6 separate regions of the Homo sapiens genome follow, and regions 2, 3, 4, 5 and 6 are each linked to region 1. The links are contacts of gene promoters, found by promoter capture Hi-C in blood cells and fetal thymus (Javierre and others, 2016). All regions are on one chromosome and are shown on one strand. The core of a region is centred on a gene start or on the middle of the fragment in contact, and the rest is flanking DNA. Distances in the headings are between cores, read along the strand shown.

Evidence for each region. Contacts are between HindIII fragments. The CHiCAGO score rates a contact against its expected background, and 5 or more counts as called.
Region 2: a fragment that was not itself captured here is called in contact with the fragment with the promoter of PTPRT in region 1 in 2 of 17 cell types (endothelial precursors and M2 macrophages); the score reaches 13.4 in endothelial precursors.
Region 3: a contact is called between a fragment that was not itself captured here and the fragment with the promoter of PTPRT in region 1, in 5 of 17 cell types (endothelial precursors, monocytes, M2 macrophages and 2 more). The highest score is 23.1, in endothelial precursors.
Region 4: a contact is called between a fragment that was not itself captured here and the fragment with the promoter of PTPRT in region 1, in 1 of 17 cell types (endothelial precursors). The highest score is 9.8, in endothelial precursors.
Region 5: a contact is called between a fragment that was not itself captured here and the fragment with the promoter of PTPRT in region 1, in 1 of 17 cell types (endothelial precursors). The highest score is 6.1, in endothelial precursors.
Region 6: a contact is called between a fragment that was not itself captured here and the fragment with the promoter of PTPRT in region 1, in 1 of 17 cell types (M2 macrophages). The highest score is 5.4, in M2 macrophages.

What each region holds. Positions count from the first base shown.
Region 1 is chr20:43,188,071-43,192,808 of GRCh38, forward strand. It overlaps PTPRT (protein tyrosine phosphatase receptor type T), which reads right to left and starts at 1,836. Exons shown (of 31, transcript NM_007050.6): 1 at 1,576-1,836. The coding sequence starts at 1,663. PTPRT-DT (PTPRT divergent transcript) reads left to right here and starts at 1,995. Exons shown (of 3, transcript NR_186414.1): 1 at 1,995-2,180. The HindIII fragment of the contact is 4,711 bases long and covers 1-3,764 here.
Region 2 is chr20:41,713,197-41,717,934 of GRCh38, forward strand. No RefSeq gene overlaps it. Among named protein-coding and RNA genes, the nearest start is that of CHD6, 97 kb to the left of the region's middle. The HindIII fragment of the contact is 1,326 bases long and covers 2,244-3,569 here.
Region 3 is chr20:41,749,437-41,754,174 of GRCh38, forward strand. No RefSeq gene overlaps it. Among named protein-coding and RNA genes, the nearest start is that of CHD6, 130 kb to the left of the region's middle. The HindIII fragment of the contact is 2,394 bases long and covers 1,520-3,913 here.
Region 4 is chr20:41,785,439-41,790,176 of GRCh38, forward strand. No RefSeq gene overlaps it. Among named protein-coding and RNA genes, the nearest start is that of CHD6, 170 kb to the left of the region's middle. The HindIII fragment of the contact is 699 bases long and covers 2,575-3,273 here.
Region 5 is chr20:41,903,948-41,908,685 of GRCh38, forward strand. It overlaps LOC101927182 (a long non-coding RNA gene), which reads left to right. Exons shown (of 6, transcript XR_001754611.2): 1 at 1-152. Among named protein-coding and RNA genes, the nearest start is that of CHD6, 290 kb to the left of the region's middle. The HindIII fragment of the contact is 810 bases long and covers 1,696-2,505 here.
Region 6 is chr20:41,925,230-41,929,967 of GRCh38, forward strand. The region is part of intron 1 of LOC101927182 (a long non-coding RNA gene); the gene reads left to right. Among named protein-coding and RNA genes, the nearest start is that of CHD6, 310 kb to the left of the region's middle. The HindIII fragment of the contact is 2,175 bases long and covers 1,211-3,385 here.

The sequences.
Region 1 (4,738 bases), core at 586-3,085:
GGTATTAATGTGTGGTTGGCCGGTCATGCCTTAGAGGATATAAAATCTGAGTCACGAATCATGCCTGGATCCCCAGGACTGCCCCGGGCATCCTCCCTAGTACCCCTCCCTCCCCTAGCACACCTAACACACCCCCCAAAATGAGGAAAACAAGAATTGTGCACCATCTTTAGAATGGTGCTGTAGCTGTCCCTCTTCTCTCACTTGCTAATCCAACCTTTCAGCTTCACACACCTCAAAAGGAGTGTCTTCGTCACCCAACTTCCCAGCCAGGGAAACAGGCTGTCCCTTCACAGAAGTCGCCTATTCCGCTTCCATTTTAGTACCAAGCAAGGAAGGCTCTAAAGCATTTCCAACGGAATGTCCTTCCAGCGGCCCTTAACCTCAGACGCAGCTTGTGCAAAGACGCTGTACCTCCCCACAGGTTCGTTCTTTTGCTCTTTCTTTCTTCCTTTCCTTCTTTCGGTGAAATAATAAATGGGCACAGCTGTTGCTTAGCGATCCGAAACCAGCCTGTTCCTGCGTCCCACGGGCTGATCTCAGCCTGTCCCCGCAATCCCAGCCACCTCAGGCCGGCGTGGTTACACCAAAAGCAATCGGTGCTAAGAAACTTTAAGGTGATTTTGAACTTGGAAGTACACCTGCAGCACTCCCTTCTCTTCCCTCCGCCGCTACTCTTGGGGGGGGGGGGGCTCGGGGGTGGAAGCTGCCTGCGGTGGGGCTTGGTGATGTGTAAGACCCTGGACTGTGGTGCCCTCCAGCACCCGCCAACGTGCCTTTAGGAGCACGGCAGGCACCACCCCCCCGCCCCCGCTCCCCCTACTCTGGGGAACTACCTCTGCTCACCGCCTTCCCGTGGCCAAACCCAAATATGAGTTCCCCGAACTTTTCAGGAGCGGACGCGCTCACGGGTCAAATCCACTCCCCTCCAAGGGCCTTAACACGGGCGCCCAGCTACCTCGGAGAAAAGCCAGCGGGTAGGGCGGAGGTATTGCTCTCGGTCATCAACGCAAACATCCCCTCGGGTGCCTACAGCGGCCTGCTTAGGGGAGCAGCGTGTTCAGAGCAAATGGAGAGCTTCCTGTATCTCCGAGGAAAAAAGAAAAGCCGCCGCCCCGGCAGCCTCGGCCTGCTGGGGACCTGTCCTCCCCACTAAAAGCGCGCGCTGCCCGAGGAGCTGCCCGGGAGAGAACGCTCCACCCCGGGCGTCGGTGCCGCTCCTCGTCTCGCCGCCCCAAACACTCAAGTGGCAGATTCCGACAAGTGGGAGGCAGCAAGTGGAAATATTCGCAACAACCGCGGAAAGTTACTCCAGCCCGGGGGGCCGGCAGGAAACTGAAGCGGGGAACTTCGCCAAACGCGGGCTGCCGAGGGACGCGAGGGGCCGGGCTCGCTGGCCGGGGCGCGCGGGGACACTGCTTCCCGCGCCTGCAAGCTGAGACCCGGGTTCCGGCCATGGGGACCCGCGCCCCCGCGAGCCCACACAACTTTCTCCTCCGAGGGCCCCGCGGCTGGGGGCCCGCGCGCATCCAGGAGGGAGCGGGGAGCCCAGGGGAGCCGGGCGGGCGCACTCACCTGCGGCGCTCTGAGCCCGGGCGCCGGGCAGTGGCGGCAGCTGCAGCCTCAGGAGCAGGCTGAGGGCGAGCGCGGCGAGGCTCGCCATCCGGGCGGCGGCGGGCAGCTCAGCCCCTTCCCGCGGGGGCCGGGGCCGGGACTGGGGCGGGCGCGGGGTGGCCCCGCATCGCCGGCGCGGCCGCTGGCTGTGCGCGCGGCTGGCTCCGCTCGGGCTCCCGGAGCCGGCGCTCCTGCGTTCCAAGCCGAGGCGCGGCGCGAACTGAGGCGGGAGGCTGGGCGGGGGCGGGACGCGGGGGGCGGGGGGCGGTGTCCCCCGAGTCCTAACGCCGCCGCCGTTGCCGCCGCCGCCGCCGCCGCCGCCCGCCCGGGCGCTCCGCCTCGGCCGTGCACACACCCTCACGCGCACGCCCGCGCCTGGCACACGCCCGCGGCTGGCACACGCGGGCTCCCCCGCGCACCCTCTCCGGGGCCGACCAGCTCGGGCCGCTGGCACAGTCACGCGCGTCCACACATCACCCCCGCACCCACACGCCGGGCAGGGTCCTCGCCTCTTCGCCCCGCGCCGCGCCGCGCAGCCAAGCATCGTCTGCCCTGTGGGGGCGCAGGTACGGGGGCGGTGCGGGGAGGAGGAAGCTGCAGCAGCCGTTTGAACTCGGGGTGGGGAACAGGTGAATGGGGGTTCGGTGGCGAGAAGAGGGAGGGAGGGAGCAGCCCTCGCAACTCAAGATAAGGGGCCAGGTGAATTGCGAAAGCGGGTGGGGGCGTCTGCCCAAAGCTGGGGCAGGCGGCTGCTGGCCAGGGTCTCGGGCACACCCTGAGATGAGAATTTCATCTAAGAGCGCGCGCGCGCACACACACACAACCCACTCACACTCTTCTGGGCGCATCGCTGACCGCGCCACAATCGTCGTCCCCCTCAATTAGCCGCCCACCCCACCTTCTTCTTCACCCACATCTCTCTCTTGTCCCCACCACCACGCGGAAGGGGGCGCAGAAGGGGCATGAGGCATCCCCCCACCCCCTACAATTTTTCCCTGGCAGCCTTCCCTTTCCTTTTCTAGGGAGACAGAACCTTGTAGCTTTTTCCCTTTTCTTCTCGGTCTTAACAAAGACCTGGTTGGGGCTGAAAGCCTAAAACCATAGATCAGGGTTGGAGCTGTCCCTGGCAGCCCACGGCCCACAGCCTGGCTCTCTGCTGTCCTGGGAGGCAGCTGGTACCTGAGTCTTGGCTGGGGGTCTGAGATGTAAAAGCCAGGGGCAGGGATACCCAGAAATGCTTAAGGGATTCACACTTTGTGAACACTTTGCTACCTGGCCAAAGCCCTCCTTCTTCTGTGTCAGCACAGCCCCCCACCCCCATCCTTGTTGGGGTACCAGGGACTGGACTGGGGAGACTGTAAGTGAATTGTGAAAATCAAGCATGGCAGGGTTTCCAAAAGTGGGGAGCCCCAGGCTCTGGACCCAAGTTGGCATGGCAGAGAACACAGGGCGTCACTCTGTCAGTCCCCAGTTCCCAGTCCCCACTAGGTAAAGTGGCCCAGTTCCCTGGCATGGAAGCCCAATTTACAATCCCAGGCAAATTCTTCCACCCCTCTCCGGACCCCGACTCCCACCACCACCACCATGACCGTGACCACTTTCAAAAGCTGACGTGCTTGGACTAGCCTGTTGGACCAGCCAGTGCCTCCCACACTTGCCTGGTCAAAGAACTACCAGGAAGATTTCTCCAAGTCCTGCTTCCCAGACCCCTGCTGGGGAGAGTGGAATTTGGCAGGCCTGTCGGGGGTGGCCTGGGAGTTGAACCTTTTACAAGCTGCTTTGGAGATTAATAATTCTACCAATATTTATGGTGCATTTAATTGTGTGCCTTACTCTGTGCTGTTCTCTGGGGATACCACAATGCTATAGCCCTTAGGGACAATTGGAATGGAAAGATCCCTTCTGCTCAGAGCTGAGCTTCCAGCTGTTTGCTCCATCACTCACTCATTCTAACCCTGCCTTGGGCAGATGAGCAGTTAGGAAGTGTGCGAGGAGAGGCCTGACCCAAGACCACCACAAGCGACCCCAGTCATGGCAGATCCCAGGGGATGACCCGGGTGGGGAGATTTCTAAGCCACTAAAGAGCTTGGTGTCACACTTGTAACTTGTTGCCACTTTCTTGGGCTCCTGCCAATTCATCCCCTCTCTCAAGCTTTCTGGAAAACTATAAAATAGCAGTTCTCACAGCATCCTCAGAGCAACGCCCTTTGGCACCCCCCTGCACTCCTGCTTTAGGGATGTGATATCACTGCAGACAAATCCCCCAGGTCTGAATGGGGTTCATGTGGCCCCGAGGGGAAAAAAAAAATTCAGTAGTCACTGAGCTGGTGGAGTGGGACCTGATCCTGCACCAGGACTTACCTGCCCAGGTGCACCGTGGTCATGAACCGTGACCCTCTGTGCTTTCTAAACCTCCCTCTACTCCGAGAAACTGCCCCCTCTCCTTCAGTAGCACGTGCTGCCACCTGCTGCCCGGCCAGGCTCTGGCACCCACAGCACTGCCACGCTTTTGCACCGGCCAGTCCCTCTGCCTGGAAGCCCTGCACTGTATCATCTCCCTGGGAAACTCACACTAGCCCTTAGGGCTTCCCTTTGGAACTTTGGCCAGCGGGCCCTTCCTGCTCAAGGCATGTTCCCCAGCGCAGGTCACTGTGGTGGTGCTTTTTACATTGTGGAAATGTTGTCTCCTCTTCATGTGTTCTACAAGACTTGAGTTGCCAAAGGGAACCTGGACACTTACCACAGGGCTGCTAGGAGATGGGGGTGTGGGGGTGGAGAGAGAGGGCTGGCACAGGGCTGAAGATGCCTTACACAAAGCTTCCAGCTAGCTGGCTTCTCAGGGGAGGGAACTAATGGAAAGTTACAGCATCATCTCCCACCCTCCTGCACAGGGAGCCCTCTTTCCCCTCTGACCCCATCAGCCCAGGGAGCTGGGACATGACCAAGATTTGCTTGGCTAGGGGCTGGGCCCAGCATTGCATCAGTGCTGAAGGAAGGAGGCAGGGTGAGCTTTGTAAGAGATGGCATTCTGCCCTACAAACTCTTTTAGTTATGCTCAGACAGCAGGCCTCTTATCTTTGGACTGTGTCCTTAACCCCATGAAACCTTTGGCGAGACCTCTCCG
Region 2 (4,738 bases), core at 1,657-4,156, 1.5 Mb before region 1:
TTTCTCAGGCTCCTGGCCACTGTCCATAGCATTCAAGTATACCATTCTTCCTCTTGCTGTCTGCACTGCTGCTACACTGTCTTTCTGTTTCTTAAACCCCAAACAATTCCTCTCCCTTCCTTCTTCCCAAGACACACACACACACACACACACACACACACACACACACACACACACTGATTCCCTTCACGTGTGTTCTTCCTTCATGTCTTTGCTCATCAGTCCCTTCACTCATGGAAGCCCCCTCTTATACACTCTTAGAATACTCTATTTTTTACTCTGAGCTCTTATTACAGATAATATTTCTACAGTTGTTCAACATTTCATTCAGATCTGCCTTTCCTACTTCCAAGCTCCAAAGGACAATGATCACATCTGTCTTCTTCCTCTGGGTAGCCTTATCACGTAGCACAGTGCCTGGCACTAAGTGAACTCTCAATAAATATTTGGGGGTGCATGAATCATCTCTAGAAGGCCCAGTGAGAATTCCAAAGGGCATGTGCACCCATGCAAACATTAAGGAATTTATTCCGTACTCTCTTATAATCTTGGTAAGTTTGATAAAATATTATCTATTTTATCTGCTCAGTCTGACTTCAAAAGTCCATGGGGGAAATTTTTATTTCAAAGCACTTCCTATACTTAAACTTTTGAAAAGGAAGAACGACTAGTATTTCTCCCATATTTCCATTCTGTCTTGAGCCATCTAAGCTCAGAGGCTGGCCAAGGCAGCAAATGAAGTGAGAGGCCATTGATATGCAAATATGATCATTATCACTGAAGGCCACACCCCAGAACTTGATCTCAGCGCTTTCACAGCCAAAGCCAATTTACATTAAAAAAATTAATTTTCCAAACTTGAATTTAATTTCCAAAGCTAAAATGCATAGAAATTAAACTACTAAAACATTGCATTTTCAATAGAACACATTGCTATTTTTTGGAGTGAGAGTTGGCTGTCTTCCAACAATTAGGTTCTGTTTGGCTTGTGAAAGAGGTTCTGGGTTGTTAAGGATGGATACTCTTGACCTTGGACTGACCTCTGCAGTTTCCCTGGAGCACGGACAGCCAAGCAGTAAAGTAGATGCTGGTGGAGATATTGCTACTGTTTTTGAGAAATGGAAGCTGAGACCCAGAAAGACTATGTGATATATTGAAGACTCAAATCCAAGTCTTCAGATTCTAAGTACTGAGGTCCTTTCTCAACATTTTCTCTTAAAATGTTTGGCTCTTTAGGGCAGAGCCCAGACTCACCAATGCCACACATGCCTCCCATTTGCCTGCTAGACTTTAGAGCTTTGGAATGGATCTGCAATCTCATAGAAAAGAGGTAAAGCAAATTCCTTCCAGGTCATAGCAAGAGGGTGGGGTGTCCTTTAACTGTCCTGATGCCTAAATTTGGTTTTACACAAAATCCCCAAGATGCTGTAAAATCACTTTTGTAGCTGGATGCCAGGGTCAGAATTGATGACTTGAGAGGCAGAGGAGCAGAGCTTCTGCTATGACCTCAGGAAAATGAGATGTGGCTGCTGAAGCCCAGAGCTTGGCTCCCAGCAAACCTCAGCCCTGGTTGCCAATGCCATCTCCCACTGCTGATGGATGATGGCCCACTGGCTCCTGCACCTGTGGATAGCTCTGATTTCTGCTTTCAACCTGTAGCCACGTAGCCTTTGGATTAAAATATTGTCCTCTGATTCAGATGATTCTTTTCTTCTCTGCAACAGGGCCACCGTAGGACATATATAGTAGTTAGCAGTGCAGGTTTTGCTGTTCACTAGCTCTCTGGTCTTTAGCAAATGACATCTTTTTTTTTTTTTGAGATGGAGTCTCGCTCTGTCTCCCAGGCTGGAGTGCAGTGGCACCATCTCGGCTCACTGCAAGCTCTACCTCCTGGGTTCAAGCCATTCTCCTGCCTCAGCCTTCTGAGTAGCTGGGACTACAGGCACCCGCCACCACGCCTGGCTAATTTTTTTTTTTTTTGTATTTTTAGTAGAGACGGGGTTTCACCGTGTTAGCCAGGATGGTCTCAATCTCCTGACCTTGTGATCCGTCTGCCTCGGCCTCCCAAAGTGCTGGGATTACAGGCGTGAGCCACCGCTCCCAGCCACAAATGACATCTTTGATCCTTGGTTTCCCCTTCTTTATTAATAGACTCTGTAAAGAAGGTTTCCTGTGCGCTGGTTACCCACTGGTCTGAGTTTGGTGAGACAGAACACCCATGCTCACAACAAGTTAAGTAAACAAGCTTATTACTTACAGATAGGCAGGCAGCAAGGGACAACAGAAACCGAGGATTCATTGCCACCCAGTCCTCCAAGGTTCAGGAAAGCTGCCTGGGTGGATGGAGTCTCAACTGCATGTGCTCCACTTTCATAGCAGCTGAGGGACCTCAGAAAGCAGCCCACACTGAGTTTTATACCTCGGGGTTACAAGACCCTCTGGGCTAAGCCTGGAAGGACATCTCATTTCTAGGGAGGGATTGGAACAGAGCCTGGACTGTCCTGACCAGCTCCCCTCTTATCTCAGGATGTTTTATTTCCAGCATGTCCTGCAGTTATTCTTGAGAACTACAGATAAGAAATGGGGGGAGAACTGTCTTGGTCTAAGGCCACCCAGAGAACTGTGCTGCAGATCCCACATCTAGAGTTCTCTTGAGGGTCAAATGAGATATCATAATGGGAAATGCTTAGCTTAGTACCTGATATGTAGCATTTTAAAAAAGGTAGTTATTAAGTTAGAAAAGGGACTATCTGCAGGATCCCTGCATGGGAAGAATGCATGGGGACACTGCATGCAGATGCTTAGGAATGCTTTGTGACAAACAACATCATGGGAGGTGGCAGCTCAAGAAAGTTGATCATACTTGTGCTTTTGAAACCTTGTGAGCAGTGTTAAAGCAGAAATATGAAAGGGAAAACCTTTACATGACAGCTTTCTATGTTTTATTGACATCCTGGCTAAGCTGGCTCCCTGACCTGGGTCTGGTTGATTCAGAGCTGGTGAACAATCATTATCTTGCACAAGGATGCACTAGGAAGGACCACACTCTAGCCCAGCTGGTCATGCAGTCATGTTGGGAAGTGCTGGTTGGCCCAGGGAAGCCATTCCTGATGGATCAGAGGAAAAGGGAAGGGAGAAGTAAATATGAAAAGAAGCTCAAGCCCAGGCTATGACCAGGAGAGCCAATCCTTCATTTGGAGCGCCACTCTTTCTTTGCCCAGAAACCTGCAGGTACATGCAAGTCCCTGGGAGTGGCTCCAGGAAGCCCCCCTCGGGCTCTATGTTGCTTTTTTTGAGTTAGACTCTCTGGCATAGACTTTGTCTTTGAAAGAGGATTTGTAAGTCGCTGTTTATTTATTCTTTTACTCATTCATTCCACATTCATAGAGCACTGGATTAGTCAGGTTCTCCAGAGAAATAGAACCAACAGAAATAGAACCAAAGACATGCATTATAAGAAATTGTCTTACATGATTATGGAGGCTGACGTGTCCCAAGATCTGCAGGGTGAGTTGGCAAGCTGGAGGCTCAGGAGGGCCAATGGTGTAGTTGTGGTCTGAAGGCTAGCAAGCTTGAGACCAAAAAAAAGCTGATGTTTAAGCTCTAGCATAAAGGCAGGAAAAACTCAAAGTCCAGTTTGAAGACTGCTGAGTAGGAATAATTCCCTCTTATTTGGGAGAGGATCAGCCTTTTTTTCTATTCAGGCCTTCAACTGATAGGACAAGGCCCACTCACACTGGGGAGAGCCAACCTAATTTACTCAGCTCATTGGTTTAAATGTTAATCTCATTCAAAAACACCCTCACAGACACACCTGGAATAATGTTTGACCAAATATCTGGGCACCCTATGGCCCAGTTAAGTTGAGACATAAAATTAATCATCACAGGGACCAACAATGTGTCAGGCATATTCCAAGACACCAGGGACACAGCAGAGAACAAATAAACATGAGCCCTGCCTTCATGGAGTTTACCCTTTAGAGGGAGGGTGGATCAAAAATCAAGTCAATGAATAAGACTTTTAGTGAAGGATGAGCATTATGATCAAGGGTGGCTGTTTCATTCTGGTGATCAGGGAGGACTTTTCTGGGCAGGTGACACTTGAATGGAGACCTAATTACATAAAGGAGCTGGCCATAGAATGTGCTGGGGGTAGGGGGGTGTGTTCTAGGCAGGGGAGTAACCAGGCAGGACTGAGCTTGGTGAATCTCAGGAACAGAAGGCTGGTGGGGGGAGCATGGTTCCGGGTGGGGGCAGGGTAGGGGTCAGTGGGGGACCAGAGAAGGCAGAGGACAGATCATGCAGAGCCTGTAGGCTGGGGAAGGAGGCTGCGTGTTATTCATTCGGCCTGCTGACTCACCCCAGTCCTTGGCTAGGACAGCAACCCTGCTGAAGGACCAGGATCTAAAAGTGTCCCTTCCCTCAGCAATGATGCCCACACTTCTGTGCCTTTGCACAAGCTGTTCTCTCTGCTGGGATGCCTTCCCCACGTTCTCTGTCCAGAGATTGCCCAGATATCCTTTAAGACCCAGCTTACATTGCACCCCCTCTCCAAAGCCTTTCCAGGATTTTCTGGGCAGTGAGCCAGCCTCTCCTCTGTGCAGCCATAGTCCTTTGTAAATACACTAATGCTCACATTGATTAGCTGCATTGTCATTTTATAGTTCTGAGCCTCTCTCATCCTCCTCTGCTTGTCAGGGCCAGTGTCTAATCCTCTATCTGTCCCCAGCATCCAG
Region 3 (4,738 bases), core at 1,467-3,966, 1.4 Mb before region 1:
AGCCCCTCCCCTGCTCCTTCCCTGCTCTGACCCAGCTCTATTCCCTCCACTTGTTCTGTATTTCCATGGGCCGGACTTCATCCACAGTTCAGGTGTTGACAGTCATTGCCCTTGCACTTTAACCCACAGAGTCTGACTTCTTTTATTATTCCTGTTGTCTTGGTAGAAGTTGCTGCCCAAGACCTGTCTTTAAAAATTGCTGTTCTGGTGGCTCATGGTCACCCAGGACAGCCAGACTCTTGTGAGGGATGTGTGTATGAGTGTTGGGTGAGGAAGGGGCTTGGGTGAACACAATAGGACTTCGTAGAAGCAAAATCAAGGTTGGGCCAGGTCAGTATGAGGGGTCCTGACCTCTGATAATCAGCCCACAAGGTGGAAGCTATGGGGGTCCTAACAGAACTTACCCAACTGAGCCACTCCTAGGGCGCCAGAAACGCCATGTTTAGGATTCAGCCAAGTTGGGAGCCAGAGATGTGGCTGTCAAAGGTGAGAGTAGGTGGCTAGTTAAAGGTGACACTGGGAAATTTTGTCAAATGTTTTATTGGTTCAGCAGCATCTTTGCCCTTAAAGATGATGCTTGGGGGACAATGGATGGTGACAGCTTTAAAATCCTTCTACCTAACTTGCCTGCAAATAACTGAAAATTCAGTATCCTTGTCTTGTGCGCCTAATGAGAGAGTTGTAGCCTCGGTGGGGAGCGGTCCCACCACAACTAAAAGACTGAGCTATAACATGGCAGCTGACTGAGGCTGCTGGGAAGGGCAGCAGGGGTCAGCATAACTGAGAATAGGGATGACCACCAAGAAGAGCATGAGAGCCACCGTCAGGGTCCTCCCAGGGGAGGGGAGGGACCCTGGAGCTGCCTAAGACAGAAGGAAAAAGAGAATGGATAACCACACAGAAGAGACAAGGCTTGCTCTTCCCACAGAAGCGCCGCCTGCTAGTCGTGGCTACCCCACACCAGGCAGCCTGCAACCCCTGTATGGGCTGCAGCTGGACGGAGCTGCTGTGGACATATCTCTATTGAACTGCTGCTCTGCCATTGCAGACACAGAGGGTTATGCATCATAGGGAAAGCATGGAGAAGTAAGTGTGGGCCCCTCTGACTTCCACGGATGAGGCTGATTAATCTCATAAGTAGAAAAAGCCTTGCATTTTGTCATCTGTAAAGTCTTTAAAAAAAATCCTTGTTCTGAAAATAAAGTGAAATAAACACATACAGTGTATGTGGTACAGGGTCTGACTCACAGTGAGTGCTCTGGTTTCAGACACACTGAGCTCACGACTCCAATATTTGTTTGATAAACCTTGGCCTTGGAATCATCTGCTGGGCAGAGCCCACCAAGCTGCCCCTCTGCCCTGTCCTGCACAGCATGGCAAACTCAGTCTCTAAACTCATGAACATTCATGGATGTGCCACTGCTAGTAATAAATGGCAATAGTGCACATTCATGGGGCATTGTGTAGTGTGTTTATATCTGCTATGGTGTGAATGCATCCCCCAAATTAATGTGTTGGAAGCTTAATCCTCAGTGCAACAGTGTTGGGGGCTCAGGCCTCATGGGAGGGCTCTTTAGGTCATAAGGCTTCTGCCTCATGAATGGATTAATGCTGCTATGAAAAGAGCTTGCAGGAGTGAGTTTGTTCTCTTCTGCTTTTTTGCCATGTGAGGACACAGCATTCATCTCCTTTTTGTCCTTTCACCTTCTCCTATGTGAGCACATAGCAAGAAGGCCCTCACCAGACACCAGATGCTGGTGTCTTGATCTTGGACTTGGCAGCCTCCAGGACTGTGAGAAAGCCATTTCTCTTCTTTATAAGTTACCCAGCCTCAGGCGTTCTGTTATAGCAGCACAAACGGATTAAGACAACATCCATTACTCTAATTTAAGCTGCAGCAAATTTTTGCTCAAACAAAGATAGAAGTTATAGGTTAACTAGAAACAAACCCACTTTTATAATCTTTACAATAACAGTATTGAAAATTATCCTCATTTTATAGATAAGGAAACATTTATCCAACAATGAAACGGAGTGTCTTCTGATACTTCCCCTTTTCTCTTTGTTTCTCTAAGAACCATGTTCTTTATTCATTGCCACTGTCCATGTTAGTTCTCATTTGGAGAATTGCTACAGTCTCTTTTTTGTTCTCACTGCCTCAAAGTTCCCTCCTCCATCCTACTGTTCACTGCAATTGCTCCAAGACTAAAAAGTAATCATGCTACGCCTCTGCTTAAAAGTGAAAATTAGGCCGGGCATCGTGGCTCACACCTGTAATACCAGTGGCTTGGGAGGCTAAGGTGAGAGGATTGCTGGAGGCCAGGAGTTTGAGACCAGCCTGGGCAACATAGTGACGCTCTGTCCCTATAAAAAATAGAAAAATTTAGCTGGGTGTAGTGTGTGCACCTGTAGTCCTGGCTACTCAGGAGGCTGAGGCAGGAGGATTGCTTGAGCCCAAAAGTTTGAGGTTACAGTGAACTACCATTGTGCCACTGCACTTCAGACTGGACAACAGAGTGAGACCCTGTCTCCAATTTAAAAAAAAAAAAGGTGCAAAGCAGTCCCAGTTGTCCCCTGGATAGAGTCCACATTCTTTAGTGTGATGCCCAAGACTGTCCTTTGTCTGATACATGTCAACTTTTCCAGAATTATTTCTCATCACACCTTGCCCTGAACGCCACTAACATTCTTTCATATATGCCAGGGTAGACTTTGCTCAGCCTGAGCCTATACTGGTTTATCTATTTAATTTTTTATATTTTTAGAAATAAGAACTCTTGGAGCTTTTGAAAAATAACAAACTGAGCTCCATTTTCAAATTAATTAATTTCTGTTATCTTCAGTTATTCCTTCTGTTCCCTCTAGTTAGGATTACTTGATTGTTTTAACACCCCGTTCTGCTCCCCACTCCAGGTGGGCTCAGCCCCCTTGGCAATAGTGAGGGTAGGGAGAATATTCAAGCAGAAGTTTTTCTTGCTTATTTTGATCCTAGGCTTTGTTTTCTTGGTGCGTGGTTACCTTTATGTACCCACATTGACTAGTAGAACTGTCAAAGCTGGGTGTATGTGAATTTTTACCTGCACTGACTGATGACAGGAGAGTCCATAGGGTAGAAGTTAGTCTGTAGCACCCCACAAGTTTTGAAACCTACCAAGTTGGTTTCATACTTTATAAGACCTGAAATCCTCTTTTTTTGATTTTCTTTTTAAAATAATTCCATTTAGGTCCCTTCCTGTATTTCTTCTGCAATTTTTCTATTTCCACCTACACGGAACCATATAAAACCATATTAAGTAGGCATTTCCTGTTGTTTCTTCAGTCATTCTACTTTAAAATGAGGGTCGTTGTCTTAGACAACCTTGTTTGTAGTCCTAGGCAATCTTGTTTGGTACCTGAGGGATAATCATGAGAAAATGACAAATCTTACAGTAATATACATATTTGTACAAGTGTGCAAAGATGTATGAGTAAGAATATTTATTGCAGCAGTGTTTGTAATATCCAAAATTGTAAACAACTGAAATGTCAGTCGAGAGGGAGCTTGTTAAATGCATGTGATTACAGCCATACAACTGAATATCATGTTTCCATTGAGAGAAGCCTATATGTACCAATATGGAGGGTTACCATTTATATGCTTAGGTGAAAAGAACAAATTTTATGTAAAGTACAAAAGTATGATTCCATTTCTGTTAAAAAGAGATTATTATATACATATATACCCTTCATAGCCTGGAAAGTTTTTAAAGGAATATTCGCCAAATTGTAAAATTAGTTAAGGTATTGGTTGAGGGGTGGTTGTAGTAGGGAATGGAATTACAGAAGAGAGGACTTCATAATCTAATTTATATATTCCTGAATATTTACTTTTATCTTTACAAAAACAATGTGTTACTTTTATAATCAGGAAAAAAGCTTTAAAATGTATATCTTCTGAGATGCAACTACAGCAATTATAAGTGGAAAATTTATTGCCTCTAATGCTAGAATTTCTAAACAGAAAGAATGAACATGAACTTATCGATAAATAAAATATGAGTAGATTTCACACTGGTTTAGGAATAAATGGACATAAGTAAAAAGTAATCAAAGCACAATTAAATAGAACAAATACAGGGACACAGATTAATTTTGACACCAGCTGGAGCCAGCAACACATCTAGCAAATCTAGCATCTATCTAGTTATGCTTCTGTGAAAAACATGGTTTGCAAAACCTTTGAAAGGAGCAACCAGGTCTTATAACTGGTGGAGCATGTAGCTCAGTGCGGTTTTGATTTCTGATTTTTGTTTGAAACAAAAGTTGTTCAGGAGACAGGATGTTTCTTACTAATTAGGCTTCCTTTTTTTGTTTGTGTCAACTTTTGTGCCATTTTTTGTTACTCAATTTTATGGTATTTTTGAAGAATGTGTTATGTGCTATTTCTTTTTTTCTCCTTTATTTTTAAATTTCAATAGTTTTTGGGGACAGGTGGTTCCTGGTTACATGGATAAGTTCTTTAGTGGTAATTTCTGAGATTTTGGTGCAGTCATCACCCGAGCAGTGTCCACTGTACCCATGTGTAGTCTTTTATCCCTTACCTCCCTCTTGCCCTTCCGCCTGAGTCCCCAAAGTTCATCACATCATTCTTACGCCTTTGTGTCCTCAAACTTAGCTTCCACTTATAATTGAGAACATACAGTTTTGGTTTTCCATTCCTGAGTTACTTAGAATCATGGTCTCCAACTTTATCCACTTT
Region 4 (4,738 bases), core at 1,674-4,173, 1.4 Mb before region 1:
ATTGTTCAATTCCTACCTATGAGTGAGAATATGCGGTGTTTGGTTTTTTGTTCTTGCGATAGTTTACTGAGAATGATGTTTTCCAATTTCATCCATGTCCCTACAAAGGACATGAACTCATCATTTTTTACGGCTGCATAGAATTCCATGGTGTATATGTGCCACATTTTCTTAATCCAGTCTATCATTGTTGGACATTTGGGTTGGTTCCAAGTCTTTGCTATTGTGAATAATGCCGCAGTAAATATACCTGTGCATGTGTCTTTATAGCAGCATGATTTATAGTCCTTTGGGTATATACCCAGTAATGGGATGGCTGGGTCAAATGGTATTTCCAGTTCTAGATCCCTGAGGAATTGCCACACTGACTTCCACAACGGTTGAACTAGTTTACAGTCCCACCAACAGTGTAAAAGTGTTCCTATTTCTCCACATCCTCTCCAGCACCTGTTGTTTCCTGACTTTTTAATGATTGCCATTCTAACTGGTGTGAGATAGTATCTCATTGTGGTTTTGATTTGCATTTCTCTGATGGGCAGTGATGATGAGCATTTTTTCATGTGTTTTTTGGCTGCATAAATGTCTTCTTTTGAGAAGTGTCTGTTCATGTTCTTTGCCCACTTTTTGATGGGGTTGTTTGTTTTTTTCTTGTAAATTTGTTTGAGTTCATTGTAGATTCTGGATATTAGCACTTTGTCAGATGAGTAGGTTGCAAAAATTTTCTCCCATTTTGTAGGTTGCCTCTTCACTGTGATGGTAGTTTCTTTTGCTGTGCAGAAGCTCTTTAGTTTAATTAGATCCCATTTGTCAATTGCAATGGGATATTTTTAACGTTTGGAGGGAAACTTGATATCCTCCGGACATCACGGTAATACCAGCTCTGCTAATACAGTTTCAACTTTAGGTTAAGCTACGTTCCTTTTGATGACATCATGTCTTTGCAAACAGAGGCTTTTAGTCATTGCTGTGGTTAAAATAAAGTATGGTATGTAAACCACTGTAGAGCAGGCAATGAAGATCATGGTGTCTAATCTGATTCCAAGGTTTAAGAAGTTGTGTAGTGCCCAACAAATATACAGATCCCATTATTAAGTAATTATAGTTATTTCAGAATGAAATAAAAATATTTTTTAAATCAATTTATGTGATTGTTTTTTGACACATAATTATACATATTTATGGAGTACAGTGAGATTTTCAATACATGTATACATTGCATAATGATGAAATCAGGGTATCTAGCATTTCCATCATCTCAAACATTCATCATTTCTTTGTGGTGAGAAGATTCAAAAATCCTCTTTTCTAGCTACTTTGAAATACAGCATATGACATTGTTAACCATAACCACCCTCTGGGAAATAGCACACCAGAACTTATTTCTCCTATCTGTGACTCTCTACTCATTAACCTATCTCTCCCTTCTTCTCTTCCTTCTACCTTCCCCAATTTCTGGTAACCACTATTCTGCTTCCTGCTTCTATGAGATCAGCTTTTTTAGATGCTGCATATGAGTGATATCATGCAGTATTTATCTTTCTGTTTCTGGCTCACATCACTTAACACAATATTCTCCAGGTTCATCCACGTTGCCACAAGTGGCAGGATTTTATTCTTTTTTTTATGGCTGAAATGTATTCCATTGAGTATATATACCACATTACAAAAAATCCATCTGTCTATTGATGGACACTTGGGTTGATTCCATATCTTGACTATTGTGAATAGTGCTGCAGTAAACACGGGAGTGCAGCTATCTCTTCGATACTCTGATTTCCTTTCTTTTAGGTATATACCCAGTAATGGGATTTCTGGATCACATGGTAGTTCTATTTTAATTTTTTGAGGAACGGCCCACTGTTTTCCATGGTTGCTGTACTAACTTGCTGTTTCATCAGCAGTGTATAAGTTCTTTCTTGAGATCCTTGCCAGCATTTGTTATCTTTTGTCTTTTTGATGATAGCCATTCTAACTGGGGTAAAGTGATATCTCATTGTGATTTTAATTTCATCTCCCTAATGATTAGTAGTGTTGAACATTTTTTCATATACCTGTTGGTCATTTGTACGTCTTCTTTTGAGAGATGCCTGTTCAGATTTTTTGACCGGTTTTTTTTTTTTTTTTTTTTTTTTTTTAAGATGGAGTCTTGCTCTGTCACCTAGACTGGAGTGCAGCGGCACCATCTTGGCTCACTGCAACCTCCACCTCCTGGGTTCAAGCAATTCTCCTGCCTCAGCCTCCCGAGTAGCTGGGATTACAGACACACGCCACCATGCCCGGGTAATTTTTGTATTTTTAGTAGAGACTAGGTTTCACCATATTGGCCAGGCTGGTCTCAAACTCCTGACCTCATATGATCCACCCACCTCGACCTCCCAAAGTGCTGGGATTACAGGCGTGAGCCACCACACCCAGCCCTTTTTGCCCATTTTTAAATTGGATGTTGTTTTTTGGCTTTTGAGGTTTTTGCATTACTTATATATACTTGATATTAACCCTTATCAGATGTGTAGTTTGCAAATATTTCTATAGTTTTCCTCTTCACTGTGTCGATTGTTTTCTTTGCTGTGCAGAAGCTTTGTATTTTGATGAAATCTCATTTGTCTATTTTTGCTTTTGTTGCCTGTGCTTTTGTGTTCTTGACAAAAAAATCTTTGCCCAGACTAATGTCATGGAGGATTTATTCTAATAGCTTATAGTTTTAGGATCTACATTTAAGTCTTTAATCCATTTTGAGTTGATTTTTGTATATGGTGAGAAATAGGGTCTAGTCTCATTCTTCTGCATGTGAATATCCAGCTTTCCCAGCACCATTTGTTGAGTGGTTCTTTCTCCAATGTGTGTTCTTGGCACTTTTATCAATCAGTTGCTGTAAGTACGTAGGTTTATTTCTGGGTTCTCCATTCTGTTCCATTAGTCTGTGCATCTATTTTTGTGCCAGTACCATGCTATTTGGTTACTATAGCTTTGTTGTATATTTTGAAGACAGGAAGTGTAATGACTCCAGCTTTGTTCTTTTTGCTCCAGATTGCTTTGGCTATTTAGGATCTTTTGTGGTTCCATATACATTTTAGGATTGTTCAATATACGTTTTAGGACTTTTATATTTCAGTGAAGTACATCATTGGTATTTTGATAGGGATTACACTGGATGTGTAGATTGCTTTGGGTAGTATGAACATTTTAAACAATATTCTATCAATCCATGAACATGGATGTCTTTATATATGTTTTCTTCAGGTTTTCATCAATGTTTTATAGTTTTCATTGTAAAGCTTTTTCACCTCCTTGGTTAAACTCATTCCTAGGTGGGAGGCTGAGGTGGGATGATCACTTCAGCCCAGGAGTTTGAGACTAGCCTGGGCAACATAGTGAGACTTCCACTTCTACAATTTTTTTTTAAATTACCTGGGCACGGTGGAGTGTGCCTGTAATGTTAGCTACTTAGGAGGCTGAGATGGGAGGGTCACTTGAGTCTGTGATGTTGAGACTGCAATGAGCCGTGATGGTGCCATTGCACTCCAGCCTGGGTGGCAGAGCAAGACCCTGACTAAAAAAAAATTCCTAGGTGTTATTTTTGTGGTGATTATAAATGGGATTGATTTCTTGATTTTTTTCTGGATAGTTCACTATTGGTGTATAGAAACACTATATGTGCATTGTTTAAAAAATCAGCTACTGTTAGGACATACTTATTAAATTGTTTAGCTCTAACTAAAGATGAGGTATTTCTGTTAATCATGAACATGAAAAAAATTGTGGAGACACTAAGGATCCTGTCAACAGGGAAAGTGGGGGGGAACTTCTGTTAGGTCCTAGCAGGAAACCAATGGCACACTCAAACTGGATAATTTAAAGAGAGTTTGAGAAAGGAATTTTTTTCAAAGATGTGGGAAAGGTATAGAGAAATCACAAGGAATAGGCAGTATCCTGAGGTTAGTACTGGGGAGAGGGAATTGGAAAAGTTGGGAGGAAAAAAGAGGGTGGGAGGGAAGAAGTGGTTATTACAACCTGTAGATCATGCTGTGGAGAGAGGCCTGTCTCACAGTAGTAAAGAGCTTCAGCTCAGCAACATGGTCAGCTTCAGTTCTTGGCATAGAGATCTGGGAAAAGAGGTGCCCTGACCTCACTCTTATCCTTCCCTCTCTCCCAGTTTCTGCAGGTGTTCCCCACTGGCCAAGCCCAGGAGAGGGCAAGGGAGCCTCTTGACATAACCACAGGACTTAGCTTCCCTGGTACAAAAGAAGGTGGAAGACTAGTCCTGGAAGGGCAACCAGGAGCAATCCAATATATTATGATACAGCTAAATTTGAATCTGCTGTTGCTTATACAAAGAATAGTGAATCCTTCTCAAGCTTCAGAATCAATAAGAACACGCATTTATCAAGCACTTTACTGTGTGCTCTGCTGAGTTAAGCACTTTACAGGCATTATCTCATTTAATCCATAAACAACCTTACCAAGTAGATTCTATTGTTCACTCCAAAATGGAAGATAGAACAAATACATGGCAGCATTGCTGTGAAGAGGAGAGAAAATGAGGAGGAGAGAAAATGCATCAAGGTAACTTCCTTCATGTACATAGTGGGCTCAGTCAATGGAAAAAAAAAATTTTGTTTGCTTTTTTGAGACAGAATCTCACTCTGTTGCCCAAGCTTGAGTGCAGTGGTGCAATTTCGGCTCACTGCAACCTCCACCTCCTGGGTTCTGGCGATTCTTGTGCCTCAGCCTACCAGTA
Region 5 (4,738 bases), core at 851-3,350, 1.3 Mb before region 1:
CGTCTTCATGCTATAGAAGAAGGAATGGAACTGTGAATGGTGGGAAAGGCTGAAGGAAGTAATGGAGACCACGATGCAGAAGTAGGTGCTCTTGCAAAGCAGTCCCGGGACAGATAAAGGAAGCAAAGGCAGAGAACCCCAACGCCTTGTAAGTAAGTTCTTTTGTCTTGGCGGAGTTCTAACCTGGAGTTGTCTGGGATAGGACTGGGATGCTAGAAGCCAGGTTAGGTGAATATCCCCGTGGGCAAGTGAGGATCACCTGCAGCTCTTTTTGTCTTAGGTGGTTGTGTCAAGTGCCTTTCAAGTGCCTCTTCACCACCCAGAGCTATTCTTTGCTGTCTCTCTGCTGTGCTCTGCTCTCTTCCCAGGAGGCTGACTCTGATCGATTGCATGAGCAGGTTCCTGTGCCCTTTAGCTTCAGCTAGGTGGGTCCAGTCAACAGGGACCCTTGGCAGGAGATCAGAGGTTTGGAGGGAGGAGGGTATGCTCAGGGTATCTATTCCTCTGAAGGAATTGCCTCAGGCTGGCTGTGCCTTTCAGTGGCAGGTAAATGTTCCCCTCAAGGTGGCTCCTTTTATGAAATTCTCTCCTTCCAGTTCTGGTATCTGTTCTCTCTCCTCGTCATTTTGAGCCTAGAAAAGATAACGACCACATTGTTACTAATCCCGGGGTACTGCACTGTCCCTGAAAGCTTCCCTATAACCTGCCCCCACCTTTGCAAATGGTTCTTTTATTAAGTCCTGTTCATGTGATCCCAGTATGAGTTTGTCTATGCTTCATGCAAGGACCCTGGCTGTTACAGTCTCAAGTTGCTCTGCCTCTGTAGGAAAACAGTGGTATCTGAGAGGTAAGAGTCAAAAAGATAAAAATAGCATGGCTGGATATGAAAGAGGTGGTTTCAGTTGCAAGCAATAGGAAACAGTCCCAGCTCACTTAAGTGGAAAAGGAATTCATTGGTGGGATATTGGGTATGGCTCATAGAATTGGGAAGGCTGAGGACCAGGCAGGAAGCTGGGCAGCAGGGACCACAGGGACATTCTGGTTAGGATGATGCTGCTGGTTACTGCTGCTGTGAATGCATTCTCAATTGTAAATGCATCTTTGCTTCACTTCCTTAGGGTTCAGCATCCCAGGTAGGAGCATCTGCTTGGCCAATGCTGGGTCACATACAGGATCCTAGTTGCAGGAAGGGGAGAAGTTAAAGCTTCTCTCTTCCATCTGCGTTGGCTTCTTTCCTTCCTCCCCTCCCCATCCCACCAATAGTTACTTCTGGTTTCTCCAGGGCTGGGATTGAGAAGAGAGGAGACGTATGGTCAGGAAAGGTTGTACTTGGCGGGTACTGTCATGAGCTGGTGTTACTAGTCTCTGGGATTGGCAGCTGTTCAAAGCTGAGTCTTAACTCTCCTTGACCGAATCTATCTTCCTTCTGTCTGGCCATCTGGTATTCTATCTCTTCTGTTGGGAATCCCATCCCAGCTGTTTCCTCCCAGTCATTCTTGGGAGAAATCCAAGATGACCCTGGTATGGCACCCCTCCAAGGGCTGCTCAAAACCTATATTTTTCCTTAGCCTTTGGAGAAGGCCAGAAAGCATTTAATTTTATCAATCTCATACAGTCTGGCTGCTTGTATTGGAGGCAGTCGGCTGGTGTAAAGGTTCAGGGTGGCTTTAGAGCCCACTCTAATAAACATTGAGAAGCTTTGCTCTCTGCACTCATCTACACAGAAGCTGGTTTGATTTTATAAAGACCACCCCAGAACTATCTATCCAAGCTCCCAGACATGAGCCAAGGTGGAGATAGCCCAGAAGGAGACATAGATGGTTCTCTTGGAACAGGGTTTCTCCCAGAAAGGATTTTCAGACAATATAGAGTTTCTATCAATTTCTACCCTTTCCTAGAAAAAGAATAAAGCCTTCTAATGATATTTAACACTTCTAAATTTCCACTTAGCCAAGAACAATGGTGCCCAGTCTGTCACAATTGACCGTGTTTTATTTGATTGTTATGTGAGCTTTCATTATGTTTCAAAGGCCTCATTTGCCATTTTAAATAAGCATTTATTGTTATTGTATATCAACCTATGAACTCAGGGCTCTTAGTTAATCTTGTCTTTTTATTTTTTTTATAAGACATCTGAGTAAATGTAAATAAGGGTAACTTCAGCAGTTTAGGGGTCTCGATAGGTCAAACTAGAACCACAGAGACTGGGACTTGGCTCTAGCCTGATATTAATAAGAAGGTCCTATCCCACATGATTTCCGCTTTCCCTGCCCCACTACCCCTGAGCTATGAAAGGTCAAGACACAGGCTTTTGAGAAAGGATGGAGGCCAAGGAGGACTTTACTAGGTAATTACTATTATCTCAAAGAAATAGAAAAGGTACCAATTGTCATTTCTTTATGATACTAAATTTTAGGAGAGATTTCTAAGATGTTCAAGGATGATGAATATATAAAATACTGGTTTTATTATACAAATGGATCTTGGGATAATATTAGTGTTGGAAGCTTTTGGGGTCTCTGCCTAATAGGAAGGATTTTTCTTTTTTTAATTTAGCCATTTGGGGGGTACGGATGATGCAGATATAAGAAGTCAAAGACATTCTTTGCATTTGAAGCAAAAGCATCTCAAATCGCTATTATCTTCACCATTACCATCGCCACCCATAATATCTTCATAAATCTTTATGCACATTCTTTATTACTTTCTTTAGATAAATTCTTCCAGGTAAAATGACTAGCTAAAAGCATATGAATTTTAAAACTTATTTTTAATGAAAAATTTTATATATTTTATAAAAGTAGAAAAAATAGTGTACAAAGATTTTAAAATCTTGTAACATGCATTGCTTAGCTGCCTTCTGGAAAGTACCATTAAGTTGCACCCTCATAAGTCTTGAGAATTCCCATATCCTGACATTGTGCACAGGACTGGACTTTAAGTGTTTTTGCTCAATTCACTGAATGAGAAATGGCATCACATTGTTGTTTTAATTTTCATTGGTTTGTTTAGTAGTAAGGGTAAACATTTTTCCATATATTTTTGGTCATTTGTTTCATGATTTCTTTATTTATATACTCTGTTCAATTTGCCACTGCCTATTCCTTTCTTACTAATTTGCAAGAGGTCTTTAAAATTTAAGAATATTAACCCTTTTTCTGGTAAGCACATTGCAGTTATTTCAATTATTTTCTCATTTGTCTTTTGCCTTCCAATTTTCTTCATTATGTTTCTTGACATATTGAAATATTATATATAATAATATGTTATATATATATTATATATATATATATTTTGAGACAGAGTTTCACTCTTGTCACCCAAGCTGGAGTGCAGTGGTGTGATCTCAGCTCACTGCAACCTCCGCCTCCCGGGTTCAAGTGATTCTCCTGCCTCAGCCTCCCGAGTAGCTGGGATTACAGGCACATGCCACCACGCCAGGCTAATTTTTTTTTTATTTTTAGGAGAGATGGGGTTTCACCATATTGGCTGGGCTGGTCATGAACTCCTGGCCTCAAGTGATCTGCCTGCCTCGGCCTCTCAAAGTGCTGGGATTACAGGTGTGAGCCACTTTGGCCAAAATATTACATTTTTATATAGCAAAATCAATCTAGTTTTTACTGGTGGTTTTCCTTACTTTGGTTACTTGCTTAGGACTCAAACATATACATTTCTCTCTCTCTCTCTCTCTGTGTGTGTGTGTGTGTGTATATATATATATATATATATATATACACACACAAACAAACACACATATGTGTATATATACACACACATATACACATATAGATGTTTTTAATTTACACATATAGATGTGTATATCTGTGTGTATATATACGTGTGTATATGTGTGTGTATATATAACATACATATATATGTGTTTATATACATAACATATAACACACACACGTGTGTGTGTGTGTGTGTTGTCCCTTGATATATGCAGGGGATTGGTGTCTGACCTTCCAGGATACCAAAATATGCAAAAGTCAGCCCTTTGTATTGATAAAAGAGAAACTTTAGTTGAATTAAATTTAAAGGAGTTTAATTGAGCAATGAATGATTTGTGAATCGGCAGACCCCAGAATCACAGCAGATTCACAGAGACTCCAGCGCAGCCACATGGTGGAAGAAAATTTATAAACCAAAAAAGGAAATGACGTACAGACATCGGCAGAGAGGTACAGAAACAGCTGGATTGGTTCCAGGTTGGCGTTTGCCTCATTTGAACACAGTTTGAACACTTAGTCCTCTGAGTGTTTGAAGCACGGCTGCTGGGATTTGCCAAGACTCAGTTATCGTTACAGGCGCATGCTCCTAAGTTAGGTTCTCAATCTTGTCTGACTATTAAGCTAGGCTACAGTTCATCCACAAGGACTCAAATAGAGAAGCACAGAGTCCTTCTCAGACCATATTCAGTTTGCTTCAACAGTATACCTGGGTTTCTCATCCCTGAAATACTGTATTTTCAATCCACATTTGGTTGAAAAGCATTCACGTATAAGTTGACCTGTGCAGTTCAAACTTGTGTTATTCAAAGGCCAACTGAAAAAAACTACATATTTAACACTTTAGTAGTTTCATTTCCTGTATTTAAAAATCTTTAATACGTCTGGGATTTTTTTGGGTATGTGAATAGTACAAGATAGTATTCTTGGGATTTTTCCTTTTCAAGTAGTTAAATAATTTGAACAATCCTTATTAATGTAGTCTTTTCCTATTGATTTAAAGTGCTGCC
Region 6 (4,738 bases), core at 1,048-3,547, 1.3 Mb before region 1:
TTGGGGAAGGTAGGGGAGAGCTGTGGTGGCGGTAGGGTGGCTTGTAGCATCTTTTTTTCCATAGGATTGTATAAACTAGCCTGGACTGGAGTAGTAGCACTGTTCCTACCCTGCAGCCCAGGTCTTCCTACATCCCCACAGTTCTCTCTTGACTGCAAGCCATAGAAAGCCTGGCCAGCAGCATTTGCACCAGCTCCAGCATCTTATCTCCCGGCTTCTCTGGGCAGTTTCCCTCTAGACCTTTCCTGGCCACAGTCTGGCTTCTGACTCTTTAAAGACCCCAGGTACCCACCCAGTGTGGTGTGGTGCTCTTTGAAATGCCTCTTCTCTCAGCCTTCATTTTCCTCCCAGGTTTGGGATCGGAAACTCCTGACTTTGGTGCTGGAAGACAGGCTGTTCTGTGTTCTCGAGTAGGAAGTGTCTCTGCCAGGCTTGAGCTGGCTTAAAATGGATCTGCCATACATTGATAGAAAAGCCTTTTGGATCTGTTCATGCAGTTATCGCTCACAAACTATCTTGTAGTGTCTATGGTGATGCCAGTTCCTGTGTGTGTATGTGGCCAAGTAGGGGTGGGTTGTTTACATATATGAATCAGGATCTTTCTTCTCCACGAAATTTATTTCATTCATTCAGAATTTACTGAGCATCCACCACATGGCAAATGCTGTGTACCTACGTGCTGGACATATAGAGGTGCAAACAAAGTCTCATGTCTTTCCTCACATGTCTTAGACACTAGCGGAGAATAGAGACAAAAAAGTAAACATGCGGCTGGGTGCCGTGGCTCATGCCTGTAATCTCAGCACTTTGGGAGGCCGATGCTGGCAGATTACTTGAAGCCAGGAATTTGAGACCAGCCTGGCCAACATGGTAAAACCCTGTCTCTACAAAAAATACAAAAATTAGCCAGGTGTGGTAGCACATGCCTGTAATTTCAGCTACTTGAGGGGCTGAGGCACGAGAATCACTTGAACCCAGGAGGCAGGTGTTGCAGTGAGCCAAGATTGCACCACTGCACTCCAGCCTGGGTGACACAGTGAGACTTTGTCTCGAAAAAGTAAAAAAAAAAAAGAAAGTAAGCATGAAAATACAAACCATGATCGTTTTATGCTATAGATACAAGAGGTTTCTACTTACAAAGTTGTATTCACATTTCTTGAGACAGTGTGGTGTGGTTGGCAGTGCATGAATAGCTTATCTACATTTTCTAAGCTTTATTTTGTATTTTCAACTACAAATTTAAGGTCCTAGCTTGAATTGAATCATAGCTGGTACCACTTGTGGAGGTTTCTTTCTAAGGACTGTGCCTAAGGTGAAAACTGAGCGTAGTCAAAATTTCCCCCTTAAAAACAATTACAAATCCTTTCAATCACTCACAAAGTCCAACATATACATAGTTTTCTGTATACATTACAATGTATAAATTCATAATTTAAGCAATTCATGGGCAATCATATATAGTATTTGAGTTGATATGCAAATTTTAATTTTGTACTGTATTTGTAAATTTTTAAAAATGGCTAAACTATGAAATTACTAATATTTGAACATTTTTAACCTATACAAATTATAATTTCACCTGATCCAACCCAATAAATAACTATTTTTCTCTTTTGCCTTATACAGCATTAAATTGATGTTATTCTATATGGGACTCTAACTGCAAAGAATTGTTCCAGAGATATCATTTTTGGGGTGATAGAAATATTCTAAAAATTGGGATTGTGGTGATGGTTACACAACTCTGTAAATTCACTAAAAGTCATTAATTTGAACACTTACAATGAGTGCATTTTATGGTATATAAATTGTGCCTCAATAAAACTATTAAACAAAATGAAAGAGCTCAAGACTAGACACATGGATGAGGTCTGGTATATGGAGTTTTCCATGATGCCTTTGATGAGGTATCTCACAACATCCCTTTTGAGTTAAGTCAGGTCTGGCTACTCTGTATAAGGAAAAGGCTCAGAGGGATAAGGTGACTGAGCCAAGGTCACACAGCATGTACCTAGCAGAGCAGGGATGGAAATACCATCTGGCACTGAGACACTAGGCTGATTCCATTTCTTTTCATGCAACCGGGATTGGGGGAGCTCCCTTCCTTCTCACTATCCCTCTGAATGCTCTGACATGGTTTGCTCCAAAGCATATCTTGGGAACTGAGCAGCCTGGGAGTGGAATGACTGTGGAAAATGGATTTGCACAACTGCCTCCCTGGGCAGCCCACTTTGGAAACCATTTGTGACCTGTAATTGACCATGACGATATAAAAATTGGAAGCTGAAAATTACAAACATGTGAGGTTATTAGATGGTGAAATTGCAGCTTCCCATCAGCCTGCTGCTTCCTGAATTCTCAGTTTTGCTTTTGGGGGCTAGAGCTTGGCAAATCCTCATGATACACCCCCTCCCTTGCCTGAATGTGCTCCAGGCTACCTGTTTCCCCTGCTCAGGGGAAAAAGAACAAGAACCCTGATACCCAGCTGGGTGAGCCACTAAGCAGAGGAGAGAAAAGCCTCTACTTGTCCCATCAGGTTCTATCACATTGCATCCCTTTGAAGCTGTGCATCTGATCTGAGTCATCATCAGGGCTCCCCACTTGCTTGGCCTGACAAGGGCTTGCAAGGCCTCCAGTTACCTCTCTGACCTCATCACCCTCACTCTAACCTTAATCTCTCCCTGCTCACGATGATTGACTAACCTGGCTATTCCTCCAAAGTGTCAGCACACTCCTGCCTCCACATGTTTGCACTGGCCGTGCCCTCTACCTGAGATGCTCTTTCCTCAGACATCTTCATGGCCAGCTCCTGCAAGCCTTTGGCCAAATGTCACCCTTTCAATGATGTCTACCCCGACTACCAGGCTCTATCAGCCACCCCCAGTTCCTTATCTCCTTACTCTGCTTAATTTTTTCCCACATTGCTGATTATCTTCCACAACAACATATCATATAATTTACATATCCCATTTAGGATTCATTGTCCACTTTTCTCCTGGGGATATCAGCTCCTCGAGGGCAGTGAAAGTGCCTATTTGTTTACTGATACATCCTAAGTGCTCACGAAGAGTGCAAATTAATCTCCAATAAAACTTCGTGGCATCTTTTTTTAATGACAGCTTTAGTGAGGTATAATTCACATACCATGCAATTCACCTATTTAAAGTGTGCAATTTAATGTTTTTTAGGATGTTTGCAGGGCTATGCAACCATCACCACAAATTGAACATTGTCACCACCCTCAAAAGAAACCCTGTACCCTGTAGCCATTTTTCATTTCTCTCTAACCTCCTGTTAGGAGAGGCAGCCACTAATCCACTTTCTGTCTCTATAGATTTGCCTCTTTGAACGTGTTATATAAATGGAACCATGCAGTATATTTTGAAGCTTTAACCATGTTGTAGTGTATACTAGCACTTTCATTTTAGAGCTGAATAATATTCCATTGTGTGAGTATATTGCATTTTATTGATATATTCATTAGCTCATAGATACTAGGGTTATTTCTACTTTTTGACTTATAAATATTGCTGCTATGAACATTCACATATAAGTTTGTGTGTGGACATATGTTTTCTATTATCTTGGGTATATACCTAGGAGTGGAATTACTGGGTCATCTGGTAACTCTCTATTTAACCTTTTGAGGAACTCCCAGATTTTTTTTAATGGCTGCACCATTTTATAATCTTACCAGCATTATATGAGGGTCATGTTATGTGTTTTAAAAGTTAAACACCTCAGTCAACAAAGAGATCCTAAATGTTTTGCTGAATAAAATATTCTGATGTCATTCAAACACATGTCACTGTGTTTCTTTCAAATAGGTATTTTTGAGATGACTTTTCTCCCTTCTCCCTTCTCTGTGTGTTTCAGACTCCCATTCCCTAGAAACATTGTGAAAGAAGTCTTGGGAATTCGCAGGGATACAAGGATGCCTTTGAAACTGATGTATTAAACTAAAGTGAGGTGGTCCTGGCCTCTGGTGGCTGAGCACTTTTGTGCAGTGTGGCCCTTATAAATAACAGGGCCTGGTTGTAAATTGTGATTCTGTAGTCTTTTTCCACAACGTGTAGAACAGTGCTGTACATAAAAGTGGAACTTGGACATAACAGGTGTTCAGTTATTATGTTTTAAATAACTGGCTGAAGTAATCATGGCAGGTGTACTCTCAGATGTTGGGAGTGCTCAAAATCGACTTACTTCCTCAAATATTTGTTGTTCCTTATAGTGATGAGGGTAGAGCAAACATTGTTGGTGCCATGCTCAGATCCCCCTACCTTCAGCCCACACCAGAGGTTACCTGCAAACTCTTCCGGTATGTGGTGGCAGCTCTGAGTCTCTGTCTGAGGGCATTTTTTGGTCACAGATGGTTGTTCACCATGCATTTGGAGCAGCCACAATTTCTGGGGACCCCAGGAACAACTCAATCAATGAGGGCTGGAAGTTGGTGATAAATACCCCAGCTTACTTGCCAGCCAGTTGAGGAAAAATCCTTGGATGTAACCACAGTCTCAGGATCCCTACTGGGATTGGGCCCAGTGGCCCAAAGTGGGAACCAGCCCTCTTTTCTGGCTTACTTTTACTTCCTGTCCCATTCCCCACTCCCTCTTGGGGCTATTGGGATAACATCACAAATACATGACTGTCACCTGAATCCTTGTCTTAGCGTCTACTCCTGATGAAGCCCAACCCAAGGCAACCCTTAGGATTTTGTATTCATGGACTACCTGGCTGG